Regions from separate parts of the Homo sapiens genome. Here region 1 is linked to region 2. The links are contacts of gene promoters, found by promoter capture Hi-C in blood cells and fetal thymus (Javierre and others, 2016). All regions are on one chromosome and are shown on one strand. Each heading gives the region's core, a stretch centred on a gene start or on the middle of the fragment in contact. The rest is flanking DNA. Distances are from core to core; before and after follow the strand shown. Region 1 has its middle 32 kb from the start of PLEKHG3. Region 2 holds the start of SPTB (spectrin beta, erythrocytic).

The links. Contacts are between HindIII fragments. The CHiCAGO score rates a contact against its expected background, and 5 or more counts as called.
Region 1: a fragment that was not itself captured here is called in contact with the fragment with the promoter of SPTB in region 2 in 5 of 17 cell types (M0 macrophages, total CD4 T cells, M2 macrophages and 2 more); the score reaches 7.8 in M0 macrophages.

The regions. Positions count from the first base shown.
Region 1 is chr14:64,669,158-64,676,663 of GRCh38, forward strand. No RefSeq gene overlaps it. Among named protein-coding and RNA genes, the nearest start is that of PLEKHG3, 32 kb to the right of the region's middle. RefSeq lists enhancers at 6,229-6,729, 6,730-7,230. The HindIII fragment of the contact is 178 bases long and covers 1,549-1,726 here.
Region 2 is chr14:64,877,725-64,885,345 of GRCh38, forward strand. It overlaps SPTB (spectrin beta, erythrocytic), which reads right to left and starts at 2,183. Exons shown (of 36, transcript NM_001355436.2): 1 at 2,068-2,183. It overlaps LOC105370534 (a long non-coding RNA gene), which reads right to left. Exons shown (of 3, transcript XR_943942.3): 3 at 3,157-3,664. RefSeq lists silencers at 2,294-2,463, 2,514-2,653, 2,724-2,803. The HindIII fragment of the contact is 2,561 bases long and covers 1,399-3,959 here.

The DNA.
Region 1 (7,506 bases), core at 388-2,887, 210 kb before region 2:
AGTTTATTATAAGGGCAAAGGCAGCAATTATTGGCTCTCCAAATGCAGTCAATCTGAGTGTCAAGTAGATCCTTATTTCAGTCCTCATGGGTCTTGCTTGTTGACCTTGCTCCTGCAAGGAGTGTCTATGAGCTTGCCTTGGCCCTGGTCCTAGGCCCCTCTCTTTTTCTGTAACCTCAAACCCAGATGGCCATGCCCCTTGGATGATGTGGTAGTGGTACTATAAGCCCAAGGATCCACTAAAGGACTCATTTTGAGAAATTTGGCAAAAGAAGTTTGGCTCTATTAGGACATCTTTAAACAAGAGTGAGAGGACATGTGGCATCCTGGATGACTGCCAAGGTCGAGCTGGAGTTCTCTGGAGTGATTTGGGTGCTAAATCCTTGGGTGGGGTCCTGACTATGAACTGTTTCTTTATTTTCCAATTGTAACAGTCTCTGAAGGTAAAACTAGCATCAGCAGTATTAATCGTAATAACAATAGGAAATAGGCTGGGCGCAGTGGCTCATGCCCGTAATCCCAGCACTTTGGGAGGCCGAGGCAGGCGGATCACGAGGTCAGGAGATCGAGACCATCCTGGCTAACATGGTGAAACCCCGTATCTACTAAAAAATACAAAAAAATTAGCCGAGCGTGGTGGTAGGCGCCTGTAATCCCAGCTACTCGGGAGGCTGAGGCAGGAGAATGGCGTGAACCCAGGAGGTGGAGCTTGCAGTGAGCCGAGATCGCGCCACGACACTCTAGCCTGGGTGACAGGGCGAGACTCCGTCTCAAAAAAAAAAAAAAAAAAAAAAGGAAATATTTCAGCATACCTATTATGCACCAGGTATTAGTCTAGTCTCATTTAATCTTCACCATGACTCAGTGAGATACAAACTATTCTATTATACCTATATATTTTTAGAGATGAGGTCTCACTATGTTGCCCAAGCCGGAATGCAGTGGCAATTCATAGGCATGATTGTAGTGCACTACGGCCTCAAATTCCTGGGCTCAAGTCACCTTCCTCCCTCAGCCTCTTGCCAAGTCACTGAGAACACAGGTGCATGCCACCACACCCAGCTTTGGGTACTCTTTTTATGTCCATTCCACAGATGAAGAGACCAAGTTTAAAATGGATGACTTGCCTCAAATCACACAGCTATTGAGTAACAGAGCTAGGATTTAAAGGCTGGTTCATCTGACTCCACATTTCAGGAAGTCTTATTTGGGGGTTTCTAGAAATAAGAAGCCTTATTTGGGTTTCTAGAGAAATTTCTTTTTCCAAATCAACTTTATTTTCCCCAGACCCTTTTTGTGAACAGAGTTTACATCAATGAAAAGAAGGCTCCTACAGTGTGGCGTGAATGCCAGTGACGGGAACACCAAAAGCTCTGAACCTCAGGATCAGGGAGACCACAGCCTGCTCCTGGGATTGTCATGAGCCATTTGGCAGGAGGTGGATCTGCACAGTCATGGAGACCAGACTCCTAAGCAGGTCACCTAAGTAAGGTTTCCCTGTACGCTCTCCACAGGGCCTGGGAACTTCAGAATCTTGCCACAGGAGGAAGCTTGATGAGTATTCACCCTCTGATGTTGTAGACAAGGAAACTGAGGTCCAAGGAGATTAAGTAAAGTGCACCCTGTCTGCACGTCCAACATGGGTCTCCTGGCTCTCACACCATTTAGAGATGAGCCATTTTCTCAATAACAAAGGCAAGGCCCTGAGAGATAGTGTAATTGACCAAGCTTCTTCAGGACAGGGATGTGGACTCCACTCCCTTGGGGTCCAGCAAATGCCTTAGTAACAGTGGCTTGTGGATGGAAGGTGTTATTCAAGCCCTTGCTGGATGAATAAATTATATGCACCTGTTTCTCAAAGTTGCCTTAGTGAAAGAATCATTTGGGGCACATGTTAAAGATGAAAGTTCTAGTCTGAATACTAGACTAGAATGAGTCTATTCAGGACCCTGATAGAACAGTGTATATATATATATATATATATATATATATATATATATATATATACTTGTAAATATATATATATATATTTGCAAGCTGTATATATATATATATATATGCAAGCTGTATATATATATATATATATATGCAAGCTGTATATATATATATATGCAAGCTGTATATATATATATATATATGCAAGCTGTATATATATATATATGCAAGCTGTATATATATATATATGCAAGCTGTATATATATATGCAAGCTGTATATATATATGCAAGCTGTATATATATATATGCAAGCTGTATATATATATATGCAAGCTGTATATATATACACACACACACACACACACACACACACACACACACTATATATATATATATATCTCCACACACACTATATATATATATATATCCAGTATATATCCAGGCAGGACCCTGATACACTGTTCTCACTCTTGATCCAGATAATCCCTAACCCATTATCACCTCCCTTTCATGAACTGAAAGTAGTTTGTTTTTAGGTTTGGCTCTATTGCAGGGCTGGATCTATTGCGATTCTGAACACTCATTTTAACCATGACCTTCCTTACCTCCTCTAGGGGGCAGAAATGAACCACTTGTTCATTCTTTGGGGCTGAACTTTGCGACTTTCTCAGACTTTCATAAGAAAACAAATACCCAGAGGAGATCAGAAAGAAAGCAGATCTTATACATGCTTTTCTTACTAGGTTGAAATGCAGTTGCAATCTAGACTCCTCTAAGAGACAAAATACTGTTAGGCACTCTGGCGTTGAATTCAAGCTGACCCAAGTTCAAATCCAGAATCAAACAAGGGTTGGAGAATGCCTCCCATCTTTATGATCCTAGCAGGCTATTTAAATTAATGAAGCCTTAGTTTCTTGTTCTATAAAATTCTAATACAGTCAGCTTTCCATATCCACAGTTTCCACATCTGTGGATTCAACCAACCACAGATAGAAAATATTGAAAAAAACCCAACAATAAAAACAACAATACAACAAAAATAATACAGATAAAAACAATATAGTATAACAACCATTTGCATGGAATTTACATTGTATTAATATTTGACATGATAAGTTATCTAGAGATGATTTAAAGTATAGGAAAGTTGGCCAGGCACAGTGTCTCATATCTGTAATAACGGTACTTTGGGAGGCCAAGGCAGGAGGATCGCCTAAGGCCCCAGGAGTTTGAGATCAGCCTCGTAAACATTAGTAAGACCCTGTCTCTATAAGAACTTAAAAAAAAAATCAGCCTGGTGCTGTGGTGCACCTGTAGTCTCAGCTACTCAGGAGGCTGAGGCAGGAGGATTGCTTTAGCACAGGAGTTTGAGGCTGCAGTGAGCTATGATCATGACACTGCACTCCAGCCTGGGCGAAGGAGTAAGACTCTGTTACAAACAAACAAAGAAACAAAAAAGTATATGGAAGGATGTGCCTAGGTTATATGCAAATACTATACCATTTTATATCAGAAACTTGAGTATCCGTGGATTTTGGTATCCAAGGGGGTGCTGGAGCCAATCCCAGCAAGATACTGAGTGATGACTATAAATAATACCATCTTAACAGGATGGTTATGAACCTTATACTGCAACTGCTAAGAGAAAAAGTCAGCTGTTATTATTACCACAACTATTACTACTGCTTCCTATAAAGGCATGTGATTATTAACTCTGTTAGGAAGGTAGACTCCACTTTTTTAAATAGTTGGCTAAAGCTCTCTAAAGAGACATTCAGCCCACTCTTTTCTGGGTTCTGTACTAGGATGACATTTCACATCCTGGGAGCCAACAATGTGAATAACACAGAGGCTACATTAGACAGAAGGAAACGTGTTGGTTTCCTTAATAAAATCGAACTCATATTTCCTGAGATTGGCTCTGGCTGGCAGGAGACTCTCCACATGGGAAAAGCGGTTAGATCTCTTGGCTGTGTTTTGCCCTCCAAGGCTCACCTTTCCTGGGAGATTTCTCCCTCGTCTCACTGGTACCACCAATGGGTAAGGAAAGCCACACCTCACTCCACCCCACCCCTGGGGGGACTTCCCCTTCACTACCAACATCACGGAATCTGGCTTTGATTTGATTGAGGGTGGCAGTGAGTTTCTTTACCCAGAGACTTGGGGATTATCTTCTTTTTAGCTTCACCTGGAATAGCTTGCAATGTCGGGATCCTTGTTTCCTAAATTGAGATAATAAGAATGAAAATGATAGCAGTGGTTTCCATTTGTTGAGCACGTCTTCTGCGCGACGGCTTGCTCTCATTCCATCTGTACTACAACCCAGTGAATTTGTCCCCATGACGACTGTCATTGTAAAGATGGGGAAACAGAAGCACGAGGAGGAGGTTAGGTCACTTGCTCAAGGCCTCAGGGGTAGTCGGTGAAAGAGTTTAGGACGAGAACCCAGCAGTCTGAACTCACTTGGCTCTGAATGGAGGTGGATAACCACAGACACTGCCTTCCCACCCCTAGAGACACAGAGAGAGCTTCAGTTCCCTGGGTGTGACCCTTTGCTAAGGCACATGGTGGATGAAGAAGGTGTGTACAGCTCCTTTAGGGCAGTCAGCTTGCAAATGTCTGGCCTAGGTGAGAAGAGAGACACCTTTGAGGTCCTCCCACATCAGACAAATTGAGCCCTGCCCCTAAGCACAGATGCTGCTCCCTCTTGTCTTACCTTTTCACCTCCTTATTTATTTACCACTGTGAGGACAACACTCCACAGGGCATGTGAAGACACAGCCCCCGCCCTGGAGCCTCAGAATTTGTCACCGTCACTGGGAGTTGAGGAAATTGCAGTGTTGAGGTTTCTTGCTTCTTCCTCACTGAGAGAGAAAAACCCCAACTGTCAACAAACCTCAAACCCATCGATCAAATGATGCCTGCGGGCAGGAGCTGGGCAGCAGGGTGTATCTGTGGCAAATGAGATCACGAGAGGGCCTGGGCACAGAAAACAAGGTGATAGAAGACAGACGATGAGAAGAGAGGAGGAAGATTGTGCAGAAGGGGAGGAGTGCATGGAAGGGAGGGAGGCCCTTGTGCATGGATTCCCTGGGGAACCAGGCTGCCAGGGCAGAGGGCCAACAGGTGAGGAGGAGAGGAGGGGGCTATAAGTGGGGGGGATCTGAAGAAAGAGCTTCTGTGTCCTAAGAGGTGGGGGAAAAAAAAGAGAGAAATAACCCAAAGAAAGTGTTGCAGAGAACCAATAAGATTAGAATGTCAACGATCCAGACCCATGACCCTGGGGACTGTTGTCACACAAGGGTCTGGTGGTGGGGTTGGGGCAGCTGTGGAGGTTGCTGCTGGTCCCAGTTTTGTCCATATAAAGCAATTCGCAGAGAAGGCTGAGTGGAGGAGGAGGAAGCTGAGATAGTAAAGGAAATAACGTTTAAAAGTTTAGCACAAGCTGGGCGCGGTGGCTCAAGCCTGAAATCCTAGCGTTTTGAGAGGTTCATGTAGGTGGATTGCTTGAGCCTAGTTCAAGACCAGCCTGGGCAACATGACAAAACTCTGTCTCTATAAAAATACAGAATGTTAGCTGGGTGTGGCGGTTGTGCCTGTAGTCCCAACTACTCGGGAGGCTGAAGTGGGAGGATCACAAGAACCTGGGAAGTCAAGGTTGCAGTGAGCTGAAATCTTGCCACTACACTCCAGCCTGGGCAACAGGAGTGAGACCTTGTCTCAAAAAAAAGAAAAAAAAAAGCTACATTTTACATGATTTTATTCATATAAAATTCTGGAAAAGGCCAAATTACTGAGATGGACATCAGGTCGGTGAGGGGGTAAGGGGAGCATGACTGACTACACAAAGGTATGAAGAACCTTTTCGGGGTGATGGAATTGTCCTTATCTTAACTGAGGTGATAGTTACGCAATTGTACACATTTGCCAAAACTCATTGAAAGTTACGTTTTTTTTTCAGACAGTTTCGCTCTTGTTGCCCAGGCTGGTGTGCAACGTCGTGATCTCGGCTCACTGCAACCTCCGCCTCTCAGGTTTGGGAGGCCGAGGTGGGTAGATCACCTGAGGTTGGGAGTTCAAGACCAGCCTGACCAACATGCAGAAACCCTGTCTCTACTAAAAATACAAAAATTAGCTGGGCATGGTGGCGCATGCCTGTAATCCCAGCCACTCAGGAGGCTGAGGCAGGAGAATCGCTTTATTAAGTTTTATTTAGTTAGTTTTATTAAGTTAGTTCAGCCTCTTCTTGGATAAAATTTCAGCCAAGTCCCTGCCTGGACTGTCACCTCCTCTCTGGGTGTGTCCCCTTCCTGCCTCTCCCGCTCCCAGCCCCACCCTGTGGATAACTCTGGGTGCAGGGCTCTGTGTTGCCCTCTGGTCCTCAGTGGCCTTTACATCTGCTGACATCCACAGTCAGGGGTCTGGCTGGGAGGACCTGGTGGTTTACCCGGCTTGTGGGTCCTGTGCCAGCTTTGCTGGTCCTGTAGATACAAACCGGAACCCCTCCCATGTCCCCAGTGCTTTCCATTTATCTCTGGGCTTCAGCCTGAGGCAGGTCCACAGGCTCTCAGCTCTCAATCACCTGTGCATTCCCTAGGGCCTCCTAGGGACTTCTGGGTTTCTCCCAGCCGCACTCAAGCCAAGGGGAACTGAGGTGGGGCAGTGTGAAAGGGGTGGAACACCTAAGGTCCCTGTCCCAGCTTCAACACACCTTGCTGTTGTCTCTACTTTGCTGGAGCCACTCCAGGTGGACATAAGGACATGCTGGAAGGCGACTGACTGCTCCAGGGCTCCAATCAAAAAGTGGGGCACGGCCGGGTGCGCCTGTAATCCCAGCACTTTGGGAGGCCGAGGCGGGTGGATCCCTTGAGGTCAGGAGTTTGAGACCAGCCTGGCCAACATGGTGAAACCCTGTCTCTACTAAAAATACAAAAATTAGCTGGGCGTGATGGCACACGCCTGTAATCCCAGCTACTCAGGAGGCTGAGGCAGGAGAATTGCTTGAACCTGGGAGGTGGAGGTTGCAGTGAGCCGAGATCATGCCACTGCACTCTAGCTGGGGTGACAGAGTGAGCGAGACTCCAACTCAAAAAAAAAAGTGGGGCACACATGGTTTTTTGGAGTGGGGAGGGACAGGGTCTCACTCTGTTACACAGTCTGGAGTGCAGTGGCACAATCATGGCTCACTGCAGCCTCAACTTCTGGGCTCAGGCAATCCTTCAGGCTCAGCCTCCCAAGTAGCTGAGACCACAGGTATAAGCCACCACACCCAGCTAATTTTTTTATTCCTAGTAGAGATGAGGTCTCACTATGTTGCCCAGACTGGTCTTGAACTCCTGGGCTCAAGCAGTCCTCCTACCTTGGCCTCCCAAATTGCTGGGATTACAGGCCTGAGCCACCACACCTAGCAACATATGTCATTTTTGTCTCTGACATGCTCTTGACCTCTGTGGAGTTTTTCTACTGTTGTACATGCCACCGACAAGGTTTGACAAGGGTGAGAGAGCACTGGCATCTGATGTCCATCCCCACTTACCCGCTTTCAAGCTCCAGAGGGTTCACACTTCCTC
Region 2 (7,621 bases), core at 933-3,432:
TTTCCAGAGCTGCAGCAGACCTGTCAAATTTTGACTTTAGTTCAAAACTGTCATTCACACCTAGCTTGCCTAAAATACTCATTTTTATTTTGCCAAATGTGATCCCAGGTAGGAGTCTTGCTCCTGTCATACCTTCACCCCCAAAACTAGTCATCTAGCAGGCGTTCTGCTATAGGACACCTTCAGAACACTTGGAAGAAGCATTGATCAGAGCCAAAGGTGGTATCCCAACTCTCTTCTGGGCAAGCCGCTCAGGAGAACTTGATACGCCTGTGCTACAAGGCCCATCCTGGATGCCTGGGAGTCCTTGGGTGCTTACAATTCCATGAGTGGACTCTGAGTCTTCCCAGAACTCAAGATCAATAGGACTGGCTCATCCCCATCATTGCCACTGGGGCACTGATAAAGCTAAGAGCAACAGCTAAGGGGTCTGAAAGCCACATTTTCATGAGCGTTTATGTCTTTCAATGGTGCTTTACTCTAGAGTTTTTGATAAAATTCTTTATAAATGACCCACCTCTGGAGTTAGTGGGTTTCAAGGCTGGTGGGCTCTTCTTCAATGTAAGTTTAACATTCCCTTTCCTGGCTAGCCTGCAAGCCTCCAGGCAAGCACAGGCCTAGCTGTGTCAGGTGCTGGACATTCAGCATACATTAACAATCATTTTGCACTTAGAAAAAAAAAGGTGTTTTCAATTGCATTTTGGAACCTGGGACTCAGAGCAAAAGAATAAAAGCTGAATCCTAAAATAAGAAATGACCTGCCTTGGGTTATAGTGGGGGAAGGGGTGGGCGAAGAGGGAATTCTAGAATAAAATTCAGAGCCATCTGTGAAGCTAAGGATAGGACAGTGGACAGTTGAGCTGTGCCTAAAAATCTTTGATTTGCAGACTCCTCTCATTAGGGAGCCGCCTGAATCTCTTCCCTTAGAAACTAAAATACGGATCGTGACTACCTCCAGGCAGGGGTTTTGCATGACTGCCTCCTACCTGGAGGTGACAGCCTAGTCTCTCCCCACAGAAATTCTCAGTACAAAAAGGCTGTCACTATATCCCCCCACCCCACCCCCCAATCTGATGCATCTAAAATTTAGATGTACAAAAAACAGTGGCTTCTTTTCATTTTCCTTACTCCTGGCTGGCGCCTCTAATTGCTCACTGAAAACAGTGGTTTGGATATTAATAGGCTGTAACTCAAGGCCCTACCTGAAGCTCGTTGTCAGGGAAACAGCACTCCAGCCCCGCAGCTGCTTCCCCAGCCTGGGAAGTACGGATGAGTTGGTGGGAGTTGGGGATTGTTTTACAGCTTCTGTTATTTCTCCCACTTTCTGCTATTTCTCAAGACCAAGTTAGAGGAAGAGGGGAAACTGGAGAGGAGGGTGAGGGTAGAGTAGCCCGGAGAAGCTTAGAGGAAGAGAGGAACTCTTTGGGAGAGGAAGACTAGGGGTCCTTGAAGTATGGCTTGGGGCACTAGGATCTTTCCTCCCTCGGTCTACACGGGGTCACTCTCTGGGTGGCTCCCAGCACCCGGAGGCCCGGCCCCCTCTGCTGCCCTCACCTGTCCCTCCTGCCTGGGCGCTGGGTGGCCCGAGGAGAGCGCAGCCAAGTTCCCCAGAAGAGGGATATGAGCGGCCACAAGGCTGAGAAGCCGGACAAAAAAAGGCAGAGAGCAGCGCTGCGGTCGGACGGGCTAGAGGCGCAATCCCCTTCGCTCCCAGGCCGGGGTCCTGGAGAAGGCGGACGAGAACACGCACCCCCGTCACCCTCTCCCTGCGCCCCGGGGTGACGGACTCTCCGGGATCCCGCTCTCCAAAGCTAGCACCAAGTGCCTCGGACGCCCGCGCGCGTTCCCGCGTCCCGGGATGATCTTTGCCGCAGCTGCCGGGCTTCCCGGGCCCCGCACCCCTCCCACCCCACGCCCGACAACCGGGGCTGGACTCCCACCCGGTCCTCTGGGCCCTGCGCGTCAGGCGCCCCCTGGGCCCAGCGCTCCTTTGAGCTGGCGCCGCGCGTCCCAGCCTTGCGCACCCGCACCCAGCTCCCTTGGCCGCCGGGCCCTCCTGGGACTCACCTGCCCTGGGACTGAAGCGGGGGCCACCCCGAGCCCGGGGGTGGCGGCGGCGGCGGCGCAGGGGGAGGAGGGCAGCGCGGGGCTCCTGGCACAGCGGCCGCCGGGCGCCTGGTGCTGCCGAGCCGCGGACCCGCCCAGAGATATAAATAACATTATCTGAGGAGGGACATTCCTGCCGGGGGACATCGCTGCTGCCGGGACCAGATAGTCCCGCGGCGGGGGCGGGGAGGCGGGGCCGCAGCCTCCCGCAGCGCCAAGCCCAGCCCCCGCCTTCCCCACCCACTCACGCACCTGCCAATCAGCCTCCGCGCCTGGGGGCACCTGCCGGGCCTCAGCCCGGCTCCTGGAACCCGCCTCTGCCTCCCCGCCCGCCGCTGAGCCTGGGGCGCCTCCATCGTCGTTCATTGCCCCTAACCCCGCGCCACCCCGAGCCCCCTGAGGCGGGAAGGGGGTTGGACTCTAGCTCGGGCCTAATTCGTGCGCCCGGAGAGGCAAGCCTGGTGGCGAAAATGAGCCCTCCAGCCTTTCCCGCCCTGCATCCCCACTGCACACAGTTCAGTTTTTAAAATATATGAAAAGACATTTAGGCCATAGGGTGGGCGCGGCGGGTACCCGGGAGGTGAACCCCCGCCGTGGCGGGTTTGGGAGGGACAGATTGTTCCCGGGGGCTGGTGCATTAGAAAGCGCGCTCCCGGGCGGGCTTCTCTCGGCTGGCGGTGGGAGGGCAGGGGGCGGGCACTGGGCCCGAGGGCCCCACCCCCAGCCCGAGCTCAGTGTCGCTGTTTCTGCCCGAAAACCTAGTGTAATCAGGACGAACCAGGCAAAGCTGGCGGCGCGCAGCCTGCAGTCCCAAGGAGCTCGCACATTGTAGGGACTGTAATCAACAGGCAGGCTGCCACACCTGCCCACTGGCACCTCCTGGCCGGCCCGGGTCTCCGGGCGAGTGGGGGTGCCTCACTACAAGCCTGGATGAGGCGCGGCGCAGCAGGCCAGAGGAAATACTAGAACCGATGGTGCCAAAAAGGCATCTCCGAGTTGCCCCCGGAGAGAAACTCAATAGAACACCGGCAGCTTGCAAGGCAGTACATTTTCTTGACTTTCTAACGATCAAGGTCATTGTTCAGTAAGGTTTACGTGTACGCCTTGAGGTAGCTTTCATCTCTTTTCTCCACCTGCGGTGCCTGGGATGATTTCTCACCAGCTATCAACGCAGGTAATCTCAGGTATTATGGAAATGGCCGTGGAGATTAAAAGCGCATAGATGCAGAAGAAGTTTTAACTTTTACTGATGCTGCCTGGTGTTCTTAACAAGGGAACAGTCTTACTCCTGAGTTATTTGCTTGGGATTATAATTGTGCTGTTTTCCAGAATTCACCCAGGAAAGGGGTGTTTGCCAGATGTTCGAGTTTAGTTTATATATTGAACATATGCAAAGATACTTCACTTCCTGCTGCAGTCCCACTTCTTGAGGGTGGGTATTTAGACACTGAGATGTGCTGAGTGGGACAAACGCCCCAGGTATTACAGAGCCACAGAATTCTTCACTCCACCCTCCTCTTGGCTGGATCCTTATTACAGCTCAATTTTCCAAGAGACACTAGTAATATGGGAAAGAGGATACAAAAACATTCATGGTCATCGATAGATTCGCAGTGATCCCCTCCTCCCCTTTGTTGACAACATTTAAGAATGCATTTTTCTATTACTGAGTTAAAAAGAGAAAGTTCTGTTTTGTGAAAAAAAATGTTTAAAAGTCAAATTCTGGCAAGGAAAGCTCAAGAAAAACAGGCCAACTTCAAAAGCTGAGACTATTATATATCTCAAGAAGAAATCCTTCATCTATTTTTGTTAGAAAAAAATGGAGGGAAATTATGTATTTATGGTTTTTTAAAAGCTTGTATGAATAAACTTATTAGATAAATTCATGGTTCTCTAGAATGGTGGTTCTGCAGCTACGTAATTATATACTATGCAAGCCAGATAATTCCTTAGCTATAGGTCTGTGGCACTGAACTGAATAGTTGCATACATATTTTTCTTTGTAGCCTTAAAATTTATAATTTTCAACCATAAGAAAAAATTAATATGATAAAACTCCAAATCAGCAGACAGATTACCCCAACATTTTACAAACCAGCTCAGCTGCTTTAGTTATCTCCACTTTAGCTGAAAGCTAAATAATTCAATACAACCTCATTTGCTACAGAGCATGTTATCCTGACAGCATCCCCAAATGCTTTACAGCTAATAGAGTTACAGTGAAATGATAAATCAGAACTGAGGAAGAGAGGAAATTTAGGCTTGCAGTGAGGAAAGGGCATTGTCAAATAATAGGGAAAGGGGAACAGATCTCTGTGGCCAGGAATGAGAAATTGGGAGAATAAAAGAAGGGAGAAAGGTTGGGCATGGTGACTCACACCTGTAATCCCAGTACTTTGGGAGGCCGAGGCAGGCGGATCACTTGAGGTCAGGAGTTCAAGACAAGCCTGGCCAACATGGCAAAACCCTATCTCTACTAAAAACACAAAAATTAGCTGGGTGTGGTGGTGCGCACCTGTAATCCCAGCTACTTGGGAAGCTGAGGCAGGAGAATCACTTGAACCTGGGAGGCATAGGCTGCAGTGAGCCAAGATCACGCCACTGCACTCCCACCTGGGTGACAAAGCAAGACTCTGTTTCAAAAAAAAAAAAAAAAAAAGAAGGGAGAAGGAAACACATACATATGTTCGTTATCAAGGTCATCATTGTGGGCAATAGGGATCACGTCTGGAGGGACCTCCTCAGAAGAGTATAGAATACCTCTTGGAATTGTCTATGTGAAGGATAGGAGATTAACCCTCATCCTGGTTGGACAAAGGACTGCCCCCACTGGTCTCCCACCCATGTTGAAAACCTACACTTCCGAGCTACCCAGCAAGCTCCACATAGGCAGTCTGCAGATTTGGAAGAGTTCTGGGGCCAGAAGAGAAGGTGTGCATTTGAGAATAGATGTTGACAGCCAGAGAGTGGGGGGTAAACCTTCACAGAACTGTCTACTCAGGTCTAGCTGAAACCAACAGGTGAGGCCAAGAAGATATAAGTTGAGACTTATGTTAGAATCATCTAACATAAGAGGGAACTTTCACTTTCCATTTCTGTAGTCTTTGAGTTTTTCACAATAAGCTTGTATTGTTTAATAATAAGTAGAGATGATAAATAAATTAAAAAGTAAAGATTGGATGGAGATGGTGGATTGAATACACGCATTTAGCTTCTCTTCTACCCCAAATTTCATTAGAAGATATGTCTGAAACAGGCATCTAAAAGCACAGGAAAATAAGGAAAAGGGGATCAGTGTTCCAACAATGTTCAAGAAATCCAGAGATACAGAAAAGATGCAAGATCTGATTCACAGAGAAACAAAATCAGAGGAAACCAAAACAGATTCAGGAGGAGCAATAGTTTAGGGAAGTTGCAAGCAATAGTTAAAGGATACAAGAGGAGGAGGGGCCCTGAGACAGAATAATTCACTTAGGAGCCTCCTCTGTCCTGCTCACATTAAATATCAGGTGTTTGCCTGCAGGACTTAAAAAAAAAGTTAATGGGGATCCTGGGACCCAAGGGGCAGAGCTCAGGGATCTAGTGACCCCAAGAAATGACAGAAACCATTCACTCTCTTGGGATAGCATGTCCTGACCCTTCTTCACAGCCCCTGAAGATAGGCTATGATAAGCAGAAAGAGGAGACAAGCCCATTCCCACATTAAGGGATGATAGGACAACCACCAAATATCTTATGGGGAGAGGGGAACCAATACCATGAAAGAGAAGCACCAAACCCAACTAATAGAAGGAAATAATATCAGAGGAAACTAAGTTAATAAAAGGAACAAGATAAATGTTAAATAATTTAATTTTAATCAGCAAGTCTTGAAAGGATATTGCATCCACAACAAATAATCAGTGAGAAACCTTAGAAATTTAAAAAGTCATTTCTGATATTGAAAATTCATTAGTTGAGAAGCAGAACAGACCTACTTGAAGGGCAAATTAGTGGAAACAGAAGCCAAAGAAATTTTCCCCAAACACCGGGCAAAAGACAAAGGAGATGGAAAGTATGTGAAAATGGTTGAAAGCCATGTAGGCAAAATCCCCCAAGGTCCAGTATTTGCTTAATGGAAGTTACAAAAGGAAAGAAAAGAGAGTAGAAGAAGGTAATAATGGGAAAGTAGAATAGAAATTCTCAGAGTTGAAGAAAAGCATAAATTTTCAGATTATAAAAACCAACTGAGTTGCCAGCCAGATGATTTTTAAATATAGTTCACAGTTTTATGAACAGTTTTAAAGTTTATGATTTTATTTATAAAACCCAAGACATTGAATAAAAATAAGTCATAAACCAAAAACTATAATAAGCTACACCAACTTGCTTGGCCTTGAATTAAATTGATCCTAAAAATATTTTGAGCTGGATGCGATGGCTCATGCCTGTAATCCCAGCACTTTGGGAGGCTGAGGTGGGAGGATCACCTGAGCCTAGGAGTTCGAAGCAGCAGTGAGCTATGATCACGCCACTGTACTCCAGCTTGGGTGACAGAGCAAGACCCTATCTAAAACAAAAATAAAAACAAAAACAAAAAACTGAATCACATAACCAAAGTTATTTGTGTGAAATAAATGAACCACTTGAATTCAGAAATGAATATATATGTAGGAAAGCTACGGAAAAACGTAAATACCAAACCAAACAAACCTGAAGTTCCACTCAACTCAAACTCAAATCCCCGCCAACAACAATGGAGGTATCAAGAACTCATGATAATGTTCAGAAATCATCAGAATACTGCCCATAGCTCAAAAATCATTATTTCCCTTCTTTACCCTTTTGCAAAGACATGCATTTCATAAAATTAAGGTGAAATTTCCATTTCATTTTTGGAAACATCTAGAGGCATCACATTCTCCACAACTTTCAAAGACAAAGCAGCAGCAGGACCAATTGGAAAAGCCTGCCATTTACAATATGGAGGAATCAAGGATTAGGGACCAAACTTGCCCTTCAGATGCCTCAAACAGAATGGTTGTGGAAGGAACTTGAAAGCCTGCAGCAAGTTTGCAAATACCAGATGAACCATCTTCTGAAGGGGCAGATGACACCAATTTCAAATTTCCCTCCACCAATAACAGGAAAAAGCAAAACAAGATTTGTATCCTGTCATCTGCTAGTCCATGGAAGCATTAACCAGGCTTGGAAATTAATGAGCATCTTTTCTTTTCTTTTTTTTTTTTTTGAGGTGGAGTCTTGCTCTGTTGCCCAGGCTGGAATGCAGTGGCTCACTGCAACCTCCACCTCCTGGGTTCAAGTGATTTTCCCACCTCAGCCTCCTGAGTAGCTGGGATTACAGGCATGCGCCACCATGCCCAGCTAATTTTTGTATTTTTAGTAGAGACGGGGTTTCACCATGTTGGTCAGGCTAGTCTCGAACTCCTGACCTCGTGATCCACCTGCCTTGGCCTCTCAAAGTGCTAGGATTACAGGTGTGAGCCACCATGCCTGGCTGCATCTTTTCTTATAT